2 separate regions of the Homo sapiens genome follow, and region 1 is linked to region 2. Evidence: promoter capture Hi-C in 16 types of primary human blood cells and fetal thymus (Javierre and others, 2016). All regions are on one chromosome and are shown on one strand. Each heading gives the region's core, a stretch centred on a gene start or on the middle of the fragment in contact. The rest is flanking DNA. Distances are from core to core; before and after follow the strand shown. Region 1 holds the start of RIPK4 (receptor interacting serine/threonine kinase 4). Region 2 holds the start of BACE2 (beta-secretase 2).

The links. Contacts are between HindIII fragments. The CHiCAGO score rates a contact against its expected background, and 5 or more counts as called.
Region 1: a contact is called between a fragment that was not itself captured here and the fragment with the promoter of BACE2 in region 2, in 1 of 17 cell types (naive B cells). The highest score is 5.1, in naive B cells.

The regions. Positions count from the first base shown.
Region 1 is chr21:41,764,513-41,770,739 of GRCh38, reverse strand. RIPK4 (receptor interacting serine/threonine kinase 4) reads left to right here and starts at 3,688. Exons shown (of 8, transcript NM_020639.3): 1 at 3,688-3,880. The coding sequence starts at 3,699. LOC102724800 (a long non-coding RNA gene) reads right to left here and starts at 3,573. Exons shown (of 5, transcript XR_937745.3): 1 at 3,506-3,573; 2 at 2,723-2,881; 3 at 1,357-2,126. RefSeq lists enhancers at 1,777-2,071, 5,976-6,227. The HindIII fragment of the contact is 500 bases long and covers 4,449-4,948 here.
Region 2 is chr21:41,164,575-41,171,253 of GRCh38, reverse strand. It overlaps BACE2 (beta-secretase 2), which reads right to left and starts at 3,094. Exons shown (of 9, transcript NM_012105.5): 1 at 2,679-3,094. The coding sequence starts at 2,990. It overlaps MIR3197 (microRNA 3197), which reads right to left and starts at 3,697; the gene lies at 3,625-3,697. RefSeq lists a silencer at 3,086-3,535. The HindIII fragment of the contact is 3,467 bases long and covers 1,029-4,495 here.

The sequences.
Region 1 (6,227 bases), core at 3,449-5,948, 600 kb before region 2:
GAGGGGAGGATCAGGGAGGCTCCAAATTGGTGTTTTAAGAAGCCCCACATTTAAAGACTATGGAGTGGAGCATGAGGGTGCAAAGCAGATTAGAACGTAGCATTACTACAATTATAATTCATCCCCCATCTGCTTCATGGCTTCTGCCATCAGACACAAGCCCCTAGGTTGCTGAACAGCACCCTTTATGCTGTGTTCCCAGGACACGGAATGTATGATCCTGCAGGAAGACTCATGGAACCAATGGGTCAAAGGAGGAGCTGTCTCTGATAAGGAAGTGTTTGTGTAAATAGAAAATATTTGCTTGAGTAAGAGCGAGGAGTTGGGTGTCAGGTGGAGATGGGTCTCCCAGAGGTGGTCTGGGAGCCCTCGCGAGTCAGGCCCTCAATGTCTCCCCTAAATCACTTTGTCAGAATTAGTGAAGGCAGAATCTCTGCAGTGAACAAGTTATGTTCTTTTAGAAAATAACACAATGCGGAGGGAATTCTCAAAAACAACCATGCAAGTGGTGGCAGGAGTGGCTGTTGTAGGGGAGGGAGGAGCCTACTAAGCAGGGAGGAGGCTGGGTGCAGAGGCCTGGCGGGAGGGGACTATGTTCCCAGGTGGCTGACCCAGCTCAGCTCCACGCCCCTGTCCCATGGTCATGCCAGCAGGTGGACCCCAGGGGCTCCAGCTTTATTCTGGGGCCTCTGAGAGCCAGGTCAGCCCTATGTCAGCTCCACGATCTCACTGAGCCATGCACTTACAAGGGTTGAGTTGCTCCAGGACCCTGAGAAGGACAAAGACGAAAATGACTCAATTGAAAATCTCACTATTCACCCATGGCCTGGCATGTGCCACACACATATAATTATCATCTGCGTGGATCCCCACCGACATCTCGAAGCAGGTCCCTCTATCCCACATGTCAGGGACAGGCAAATGCACCATGGTCACAGCCTGGGACCCCATCTGAGGCAGGCTGGCTGCAAACCCAGAGACGTCTCTATCCTGTCTTCTCCCTGGCCGGCAACCTTCATTGTTCCCTGCGGTAGGATGTTAAAGGCAGCTTCCTGGCACTTCCAGACCAGGGACCTTGGGCTGCCTGCTGGGTGGGTCAGTGCTAAATGGCCCCCTATGAAGAAGGGCACAGCTTGGGGACCTGGAGCTCAAGGGATCACCTATTTAGATTCGCTGTCAGGACATCCAGTATAGGAGGAAACTGGCTTGGAATTCTTCTGGGGAAGGGGCCAGGAGGAACACAGGGTAGTGGGGGAGTGGGGGCTTGCAAATGTCAGCAGACAGCCCCCTTCCCCAACTCCTCCTTCCCACCTCCCACCCCCCATTGTCTCCCCTCGTCGTCCCTCCCCTCCTCACCTGCACTGCACTCCCAGGCGGGTCAACAGTCTCTCCGTGGAGCTTCGTGCCCTCGGGGCTTACCTCCTAAAAACCTTCAAGTCTGCACCCCTACTGTGCCTCCGTGGCTGCGCCCTGCTTTCCACCCAGGATCTGTGCTGATTGGTTTGTTTGTAACCACACCGGGCACGTTGTCCATGCAGGCACTTCATGAGGTTAATTAATGTTGTCCCATGAAACCTCAGGACAGCCACCTCCCAACTTGCCCTATTATTCATTTCATCTTTTTCTTTAAATCGTTCCACTTTTCTTTGGCCCTAAAATGTATTTAAAACGAAACTAAATTACTTTTATACTTGGAAATTCTAACCTCACCAGCCTGGGACCAATGACTGTTAACATAAATAGCAGCTGCGCTCCCGGAATCCCAGAGGGTCTGGAACTCGAATTCACAATTCCTGGAAAGGTGTTTGTTTTCGTTTTACCAGTTGTCATGTGAATCGGTAAAGCACTTCAAAGTCCGCAGAGGAGCCGGATACCAAACCAGGTTCCTGCCGCCGAGCCCGTGATCTTTGGACCCGATCTGCTCACAGCTGGGAGCTGGCTCTTTTGGTCTCCAGGGGGCTCTGGTCTTCAGTCCCAGGCACCAGGCACTGAGCTAGCAGCAGACACTCCATAAATATTTGTCAAATGAAGCACACAGATGATTAAATAAATGAAATTGGAGCGTTTTATTACTTGCGTGGTGTGGGCTCTTAGTCACCCCCAGCTGCGGAGCTGTGTGCCGGAGACTGTAGATGGAGAAAGGTACTTTGCTAGAGCTGAGCCCCGGGAACAGGACAGGTGACTCACTTTCAAGTCCATTCATTTTTTTCCCACCAAAATAATAACTATGTTTACTTCCAAGGTATCTTCGTAGATTCAAAACTCCAATTATTTTTTAAAACATTAGTCCAAATGTAAGTTACATTTGTGACAAGCTTAAAACAACTATTTGCCACTCCAGCCTTAAGGAGACCAACTTTAATTTCCGGAGTATGTGGGAAAGGAAGTGGCTCCCTGGTCCCCCCAGGAGGCCCCCCGAGCAAGCATCGTCATGTTGGGATGTGTGAGTTCCCTCCAAAGAGCGGCCGGATGGGAGTGGGGAGGCAGTGGGGAGACGCGGCTCCCCGCTACAGGCTATGAAAGAAGGTCCGCGCCCGTTTGGAAGGGGGAGCCTGGAGACACTAGGTCTGCGGCTTTCAATGCGCTGACTTGGGGCAGCCTCTCTCTTTCCGAGTTACTAACACAAAAACACAGTTAATGTCGTTAAAATACCCTCTCCTTTAGCTCCGCCCTCCTGTCTTCATTATTAATCTCCTGTGGCCAAAAATAAGCCTTCACTCACCGTTGCGTCTCAGGAATGAGTGAGTGTTTTCTGAGGTGTGGACGCGTGCGTGATCTGTGATGCACTTCGGCCTCTAACCCAAATATCCTTCCAAGGCTGGGAATTTTTTTTCCCCATATGTGAAAAAAAAATCTTTCCTTTTCAAACCATCTGTTCTACCTGTAAAAAGAGGCTGTTATTTAGGAAAGGATGAGGGAACTCTTGCATTTGAAATGGACTTTAGATTTGCTGTTGGGTAATTTTTTAAAAAAAGTTACTTTCTGAGAGGAAACTCGTGTAAAAAAGCAAGACGTGAACCTGCAGGGAATTAGACTAACGAGTGAAGAAAGCCAATTTCAAAAAATTAGGCGCTGTATGATTCCTGTATCTAAACATAACATTTCTGAAATAAAACAATTTTAGAAATAGAGGAAAGATTAGTGATGCCAGGGCTCCGGGGTGCGGCTGTAAAATCGCCACAGGAGTGGCCAGGTGGGGGTGGATACGGGAAGGTACACAGATGATTACATTGTGTAAAACTAATACATGCAAAGGAAGACGAGTAAAACGGCAAAACTGAATAAGATCGGTGACTGTATCAAAGTCAATATCCTGGTTGTGAGATTGGACTTTTTTTTTTGGCAAAGTTTTGCAAAGTGGTAACACTGGGGGAAACTAGGCAAAGTGAATGATTTCTTACAACTGCATGTGACTCCGCAATTAAGGAAAAAAAAAAAGCAAAGAAAAGCAGGGCAGCTGATGCGCACGTCGAGACCCGTGAGAAGCGTGAGAAGCTCTGCTCACCCAGGGGAGAGCGCAGTGACCCGCAGCGTCTATTCATCCGTCCGCAGTCACCGGGCGCTGGCAGAGAGGGCGCCCGGGGGGCGGGTAAGTGGGCGGGGCCTGGGGGCGGGACGACCTACGGAAGTGACGTAACAGGGCGGAGCGCGCACCTGGGCACCTGGGCAGCCGCCGCGGCGCTGGCTAGACGTGCGCGATGGAGGGCGACGGCGGGACCCCATGGGCCCTGGCGCTGCTGCGCACCTTCGACGCGGGCGAGTTCACGGGCTGGGAGAAGGTGGGCTCGGGCGGCTTCGGGCAGGTGTACAAGGTGCGCCATGTCCACTGGAAGACCTGGCTGGCCATCAAGTGCTCGCCCAGCCTGCACGTCGACGACAGGTGAGCGGCCCGGGCGGGGCGCTGGGGCGGCTGGGGCCCGGGCTGGGGTCGGGGTCGGGGTGCTCTGGTCCCGGGGTCCTGCCTCTCTCTCCCGAACTCACCCCCGGAGCAGCTTCGGGGGGGAAACCAATTGCCGGCGAGGCCGCGGGGCTCCGACAATGTCCACTCGGCCTGTCCGGGCCGGAGGGGCGCGGGGGCTTTGGCGAGCCCGGGCTCGATCGCGCACGTCGGGGCCGGGTCAGGCGGCTCCTCTGGGGCTCCTCTGGGGCTCCTCGGGGGCCGCGTCTGCCCGGACGTCCTAAGGCGCCCAGTCGTGCTTCCTGACACTCCCCGAGTGGCCCTGGTTTTCGGGGTCTCCAGCTCGCCTTGCGCCTCGGACCCGCGCCCTTGGGAGGCGCGTCCGGCCCGCCCGGGACCCACCGGGGCGCTGCGGTCTGCGCAGGGCTTAGAAAAATTGCCATGTGGGCCTCTGGGCTTTGTGAGTGGAGTTAGCCTCCGTTCGACTTACTTAGTAATTTACGTTGGAACACAAATTGGTGTAAGACTGTAATTATTTCGGTCGGAAGCTTCGGCTTGGCTCGGGCGAGGCTTCCCGGGCGCCCGGCGCTTGCGCGGTGGAGCTCCGGGGCTCGGGCCTGGCAGTGGGGTCCGGCACGGGGCCCGGGGTGTTGATCCGTCCGCCCAGCGCTTCCTCGCCGCACACTCTCGTTTTAGCTGACTTAATTTCGAGACCGACCCGCTAGGGAAGGGCCTTGCATTCAAGTTCTGTGGCCGTGCCATGGGGCCCTCCTGCACCCCAGTTTCCCAGTCCAAAAGTCAGAATGGAACCTGCCTGTACCTACCTAGCAGGAGTGTTCAAGGTAACAAAGACGAATGGGAAGGACGCAGAGCCGCCCGTGTTAAATTCGGTGGGTCGGTTGTCGTCTGTGCATAATTTGAGAGGTAGGGAGAATGTTCTTGAACAGTACCTCTTTGTTGTTGTAGATTTCACTGTTTACAGTTGATTTTGATGGTTCATATGTAAGGCTCAATTTAGCACGTTTTAATTATTTATCCTTTAATGAAGCTTACCTTCTACATGGAAGCTATGCTTGTATTTTACCTAGAGATTCCTTGAACACATACACTCAGAAGCGACACCTTTTTAAAATACCATTTAGCCTTTGCTGCCTGGCAGACCTGGTTTCGAATGCTCGGCTGATTGAGTGATGGGGCCGCTAAGCCCCAGCTTTTCTGCAGAATCGTTGTGATGCCTGTGTCTGGGGTGGCAGTGCGTGCTGCAGCCCCATACCGTGACTGTGACGCCTCTGTGGATGAGAGGCCTGTCCTCTCCCTTTGCATTTTCGTCCTTGGCTAGGAGACTACACAGCAGAGATAGTGGTGGCTTTTTGCCGTAACCCTCAAATCCAGTGTTTCTTGGAAACACCAGTAGAGTGGTGACGAGTGTCATCAAATCACCACTAGTTCAAAGGTGAGATGCTGGCCCAGGCTGTGCACTTTTTCTCCCCTGCCTCAGATTCTGGGAACTTCTCAGGCCAGGAGGGGTGCTGTGGTTATTTTGATGAAATCCAAACCACTTTGAATACCAGCCAGTGGTTAGGTTCTGAAAGGGAACCCTCTCCATAGGGGCATTCGTTTTATCTCTTGGGGATGTGTGTGAGCTTTAATCATCAGTGAAAATTTTCACACCACTTTCTTATATTGGAAGAGCAAAGTAAACAAGCACCTACCTGGACTGACTCACCAGCTCACATCCTTAGGATCTTCTGTTATTTCTAGCGACCAGTCCCTTATTTCTTGGGTGGCCTGGTTGGAGGGAGGCTTTCTCCACTTAAGGTGGATCACTTAGGATATTGCATAGCTTGGTTGAAAAGTGTTTTGTACTTTAACTGGAAGCCTTTCCTACCCTGCCCAAAGCAGACAGGTGGTGGCATGTCAGGTGGCTAGGTCGAGGTCAGCATCGCCTAGCAGGAAGCATTTCACCTCCTGTGCTCTGCTGGGCCTGGTAGAGTAGGTTGGGGCTTTGCCATGTGCAGCAGTGGCTGATCTTTCTGAGAAGTTGGTCAAACCCTGGCTCTTTGTGAAGCTGATTCCTTTAGGTTAATTATTGACTGTATTGAGCCTGAGGTTCTTGTTAGGAATGTACATCAGTCCCACTGTGCTCCAGGAGCTGGTTGCATTGCAGTCTCACAAGGTTGTACCTAGGCCTTGAAGTAGTCGCTGTGCCACTTGCCCTGCCACATTTCTCAGTGCTTTTCTGACGAGCTGCCTCCCACCCCAGCCCCTCATATTTGCAAGATGTTCCCTGAATTGGGGCATAGGATTCTCCTAGGGTCTTTGTGTGCAG
Region 2 (6,679 bases), core at 1,845-4,344:
GTTGCTCATTCAGCAGTGCTGAAGGAAAGAGGAGATGGGGGAACAGCACGGAGTTCCGGAGGGTCCAGTTGCAGTCATACAATAAGTCCCTAACACCTTGGGGTGTACGTTCAGGGTTCTCTGGCTAGAAAGGGTAGTTTGAGGCCAAAACCAAAGAGATCAGGAGGCATGAAGGGAAGGAAGTCGTTATCTGTCTGGTGGTTCAGAACTTGGCTTCTGAAGTTCAGCTCCCTGGCTTCCATTTTTGGCCCTCCCTCTTTCTTGCCCTGTTGCCCTGGAAAGTCATTCAGTCTCTCCGAGCTTCAGTTTTCCCACCCCCAAATGCGTATAAGACCCCCGAGGGGTGGTGGGTGGTGGGTGGGGATTCCTGGGAAAGCACACCTAAAGCACAGAGCGCAGTGCTTGTCACGTACTGAGCTTTCAGACATTGTCTATGACTATTACTTAATTCTTGAAAAATTCTTGGTTATTTATTGCTTGAATTTACAATTCCATTTTTCTCTCCACCTAAGCAATTTTTATTTTAGGCTTCAGAGAATCAGCAGAGAATAAATGCATGACTCCTGGCCATTAATAGAGCAGGAAAGCTCACTCCAGGTTCAGAAGTCACCTCACTGCTGCCCCCTCTAGCCGGCTGCTGACACCCTGCTGGTGGTCAGAGACATTTCAGGGCAACACAGGCAGGTAGTGAATCCTAATGCAGTAGTCAGGAAAGCCTGACTTTACAGTAGGCATTTGGAAAGATTTGGTTATAAAGCAGCTTATCGCTAAATCAAGCCAGGAGGGAGGTACAGGATATTTCATTCCCCATCACATGTAAAAATTAAATCTGTCTCTGTAGAAGCAGCGCTCCCTGGAAACATGCTAATGGTTGAGAAGTAATCTTGAACCAACTACTGCCTTGGCTACGGTAAAGACAGGAGCCTAGGTACTCAATACATTTCTGTTAATTAAATTAATTAAACCTCATCATTTTAAAATAAAGGTCATTGAATTAATTAACAGGCAAGTTATTATTTATAAAAGCTTTTTTTTTTTGATTGCCAAAGTTAAGTATTTTTTAGTCCTTCTTCAGGCTTCTCCCTTTCCCCTTTGCTCTGGAGGGAGGGTTTCAGGGCTTCTTTTATCATAGCCCTCAGACCACCCACATTTACTTTTAGTAGAGAGAATTCCCTCGCATCAAAGCACACATGTCCAATGGGGATTCATTCAAGGCCTGTTCCAAAAGATTCTCTGCAGGTCACAGAAGAGGTTCTTCCTCAATATCTTGTCATATTTCCAAGGTTCTCAGCACCAGGCACATGTTCCCACGTGTTGGCTGCACCAAGACCACATCTTACAGCCAAGTTAAGCTCCCTCAGCTGATGGGGATTCCTATTCCCTCCCTCTAACCATCCACTCCTGGAGATGGCAAAGATCACTCACGTGGCTTCCCATGACTTAGACGAAAGGCAACTAGAATCAAAGTTTGAATATACGCTTTTGAAGGTTTTTTTTTCCCCCTAAACTAATTAAACAACTACAGAAGTTATTCGGCAGTTTCCTTTTTTAAAAGAATTAGCATGGCATGTCTTTCCTCTTAAAGTCTTGAATAATTTAATGAGAATTATACAAAAGTCATGAGTATGTTCTATTTATGGGGGAATCATAGCTGAATCAAAACCCAAATGACAATGTTAAAAATAAAAATAAACTATCTTCAAATAGTGCATTCAATTGAGCAAAGGACTTCAAATCCCACTTGGATTAGACAGTTTGAAAGTAGGAGGGGGCAGATCAATTGGGATTTTTTTTTTTTTTTTTTCAGATCACTGTGCTTGGGAACATTTGTTTCTTGCTACAAAAAGTGTTAGTAAATGAACATCAGAGTAAGAGAAAAGGAAAGCTGTTTGATTTTATTTTTGTGTTGTAATCGGGATACCACTTGGTCCCCGGACACCTCACTCAGCCCCTGTTTTTTTCCCGGTAGCTGGAATGCTTTTCACACTCTGCACACCCGCGTGTAGATGCATCGCTCCGTGCAGAGGGGCAGGGCCGCCGGATGAGCGAGGACACAGCTGACAAACCAACTCCGAGAAAGGAAAGCGGGCGCAGGGGAGACGCTGCTCCTTCCTCAGAGCAGCAAGCGAGCCACTTCTTAACCGGGTTGCTTTTAGCTGAGCTCATGCATAAATCCTTTTTAAAGGGTACTGCGCCTTTGGAAGCCGGCCACGAGCCTCTTTAGCAATGAGACAGCATGGTGGTGGGGTGGGGGGGGGGCGGGGGGGAGGGAGGGTATGAACACGAGGTGATTTTCCCCATAATAGCCCGTCGCCCAAGGCCCACCGCTCCGTCTCCCGCTGGAAGTAGGTGTCGCCCGCAAGAAGGAAATCACGTTATTGGAGGCGGCAAGTTCCAGGTCTCCTCTCCCGCCCAGCCCCGCGGAGGGGGAGCTCACAAGTTCTGAAACACTCGCGCACACCCCTCAGTGCGCCCCGGGCGGGGGCTGCCGTCCTCCGCGACTCAAGAGCGAGCGCCCCCGCTCCCCGGCCCACCCGAGCCCCTCTGCGTTCCCCGCTCTTCTGTGCGGGGACAGCTGCTGCTTTGGGGGCGACGCTAAGCCGCGTGGAGGCGTCTCTGGACAGCCCCCTCCCTCCAACGAGCCCGAAAAGCCCGCGGCAGCAGCCGGGGGTCCCTACCTTCTGCGGGGGGGTCCCGATCAGCATCTCCAGGTAGTAGCCGCGGCCAGAGTCCCCCTGCAGGTTGTCTACCATGGCCAAGAAGTTGGCGGCGCCCGCGGGGGACGCCAGGGCAGGCTCCAGGGCGAGCGCCAAGCCGTCGGCGTGGCGCTCGGCAGGGGTCCCGGGTCCCGGGGTGGGCGCAACTACGCGGTTCGTGGCCGCGGCCACCCGGAGGGGCAGCGTGAAGGGCGCGGGGGCCAGCTCCGGGGCGGCGCGCAGGAGCCACTGGGCCAGCAGAGGCAGCAGCAGCGCCCGGGCCAGTGCGCCCATGCCCACGGCGGGGCCCGGGGGGCGCGCCCAGCCTAGCCGGTCCCGTCCCGTCCGGCAGCCGCGGCTCAGCGACTCGGCCGGCGCGCGGGGCTGCGGGCAGGGATGGGCGCGCACCGGGACCGGCGGCGGCGGGGAGGACGGGAGGAGGGCCCAGGGGAGGAGGCTCGCGGGAGGGGAGGAGGCTCGCGGGAGGGGAGAAGGCGGAGGCCGGGGAGGCGGGCGCGGAGGCGCAGAGCCGCCCCAGCCCGCGCCGCCAAGTTGGGCAAGTTCTTCTCCGCTGCCCCCTCTGGCGGCCGCGACTGCCCCGCAGCGGCCCAGCCCCTCCCCCGCGGCCAAGGTCACAGCGGGGCTCGGGGGGCGCCGGGGTCCACCTGCGCCTGCCCTCCCCACCCTCGCCGGGCTCAGGCCGCGCCTCTTCCCCGGGAAACTCGAGTCCCGAATTTCCTCGGAAAGCGCCCCAGCGGCCACGGCCAACGGATGTGACGAGGCTCATCTGATACCGGGGGGAAAGTTTCGAGAACCCTTAAAGGGGCAGCGAGGGCCTGAACTAGGGCCCCGGCCCCGCGCGCTTGGGGGTCCGCGGGGGTCTATTCGCCCGGCAGTGGCGGGAGCTTCCGGGGGTGACTCGGAGGTCAGCGAGGAGAGCGGTGGATCGGGAAGGAGCCTGGAGCCTCGCGCGCCTTTCCGAGCCTGCGCCTCCCCTCGCCAAGCTCCTCCGCCTCATTTCAGTCGCCGGGTCTGGCTGCTTTCGAGGCGTTTCCCGTCCGCTGCCCCCGAGCCCCCGCCCTCAGTCCAGCCCGTTCCCCGGCCTCATCCCCCGGCGGCCCCTGGGTGGTTTTAAAGAGGTCTCAGTGGAGGCTGGGAGGGTGGAGGGTGGAAGGAGGCAGAGGAGGATGCGAGAGCTTTGGAGAATTTTCCCTAAAAATCGGGGGAGGTGGGGGGCGTGGCTGCTGCTGGCGCCTGGCCCCAGCCTCATTGCCCCCCCTTACTCCCTCTGTTGCCCACAGCTAGCTGCGAAGCTGGGCTTCACCCCAGCCACCTTCCCCCCACCCCCGCCCCCTTCGCCCCCTCCGCCGCGCCCCTGTCCCTAATGCAGGTCAGATGCTACTGGAACCCGCTGCCTCCCCTGGCACCCAGCCCTCAGGCCACCTAGTAAGTTGCTGTCAGGATCCCAAATCAGGGCCACGAGTCCACCCTGCTGTGATCCCTGCCCTTCTCCCCCACCTCCCCTTCTATCCCCAGCCAGCTCTCTGCGGACTGTCTAATTAATACTCGTTTAGCCATAGACGCCAAGACGCAGAAATGCGTTGAGTAATGCAAGCAACGAGGGTTATTTTATTTTAGATACTAAAGGCAGGGGGGACAATTAGACAAGCTAAAGTCCATCGATTTCTACAGAAACAAGGAATAGAAAATTCTTTGTACCTCCTCCAGCTGAATTATGTTGGCTGTTTTAAAAAACAAACAAGCCCATCTTCAAACAGTGGGGAGTTAGAAGCCAAGCTTCCCCGAATCACTGCAATTTTCAGCTACTTCTACTCAAGATTTGATTTTTATTCCTGTGTTCCCAATTTTAGAATCACGTCTAGCTCTGCAAGGGACCTTTATGTCAGAGATCTTCAAATGTATTGATTTTCAGATGACTTTAACCATAAATCACACTTCCCCCAAACTATATCTCAACTTTAACAAATCCCCAACTCCATGAAGAAAGGCATAGCTGGATCCCGTGATATAACTTAAGTTGATATTCTCCATAAATCTGCATAGTTATTCCAGAGCCCTTCTATTCATATATTCACGTTTCAGATTCAAGGTTGTGGAGGGAATGTGATTTTTTTTAAAATGATTATTTATACTCCTTGGTGTCCAGTCTTGAGGGGTTCAAAAAGACATTCAGACAGCTCTGGGAAGAATATAATCTTTCTGAAAAGCACATGAAATGTATTAGGGCCATTGATAAAGAGGCTATGTGACATATAAGTTTAATACTAGAGACATTTGCTCTGTCTAATAATTAAAAGCCACAAGGGAAATTTTTAAAAAATCAAGTCTAATTAAAGTTTGTACAAGAAACGCGTGACTCAGTCTAGGGTGAGTATTCCTAAGCTTTTCATTTTAAGAGGGATGGTTTGGGTTTGTGGGGAAAAGGATGCATAAAGATCCAGGGATGGAGGAGCACACAGGCTTCCATGGATGGCAGAGCTGTCTTGTCAGAAAATAATGCAAGCTGAAGGGACAGCATTGGGTGACTGTCTCCTTGGTTGTCTCTGTTTTCATGAATGGTCTTAGAGCATATGATCCCTATTCAAGCCTATGGTGCTGGGTGGATTTGGGAGACAATAATTTTACTTTCCAGGTGTTGGAACTGAAATGATAAGTGGCAGCCCTCTCATGGAATAGCATTGATTTTTAAACCATGGTGACCGATGCAGGGCAGAGAAAGGAGAAGGTGAGACCCACCCTCCTGACCTCACCCCTAACATCAGAGGACATGGGATACTGCCCTGCTCTTCCTCACTCCACCAGAGCCTCCAACTCCTTCCCTTCTCCTTACAGCCTCTCAGCACCCTCGTTTTCAGCCATGGCCTTCCTGAGTCCATTCAGGAAAACAAAAGCCCTGCAATTAGATGGGCCTTCTCTCCTTGGAAAGAACAAACATCACCATTAAACATGACCCTGGACGGTGGAGAGCGAGGAAGGATCTCACTCTCCAGCCCAAATGACTAATAGAAGATTCCTGGTAGGAACGTGTGGCGCTCAGCCAGAAAGAGTCACCATCCCATGTTCCACTGATGTTTGTTGTCTCTCACTGCCAGCTCCCAGTTCCTTTTACACCTGCGATTGTAACCGGGCCTATGTTAGATGAATCATAAGGTGTTTGTTTTCCTTTATCGTGGTCCTTGGCTTCCTCCAGGCATGCCTGTTTGCACATAGTCCTTTTAATAGAAGGGAGTCCCTTGTCATTAACTTTATATCCTGGCCCCAAGCCTCCTCACATGATTAATGAACTTGTTTTTCTTTTAAAGAACAATGATCTTTAGGTTAGGCAGATCTCTTTGATGGCATCCAGAAGTTTGATCGGGCTGGGCCGAGGGACGCAAACAGCTTTGATCATGGGGGATCTTACCTCCCACATACTTACCTTACCCATAGAGGCGCCAGCTGTGGTCCTGAACTGATTCAGAAATTTCAGTATTCTGAATTCTGTATTTCTGAGGCCTTTAAAAAAATGATCCTTTGATATATCTACTGAAAAGTTCTGGAAACAATAAGTATCCTTAGTATCATATTAGGGTTACTAAATATCACTTCCCTCCAGAGAGAACCAGGGCTTTTTGGAGAAGGCTGATTTTATAAACTGAATAAGATAACCCTAGAATATCTCATCACACCAGAAAGCAAGGATGTTATCAAAGACTTCTGAGGTCTTGTCATAAGCTGGGGCAAAACGGAGACAATTTAAACATCATTAAAGGCAGTAACTGCAATGCCTCAAAACACTTCAATTATGTTGAAATCTATTTGCTCATAATGTTCTTTTTAAAAGTACATTGATTATCTTTGAAGAATGCTAAGAAGCCCAACTCATTATTTTTAAAAGCTGGTAAAGAAAGGAAAGGGATCAAGCATGTATTATCTTAACTTTCCTGTACAAACTATACGTCAGTATAAGCAAATAGTAGATA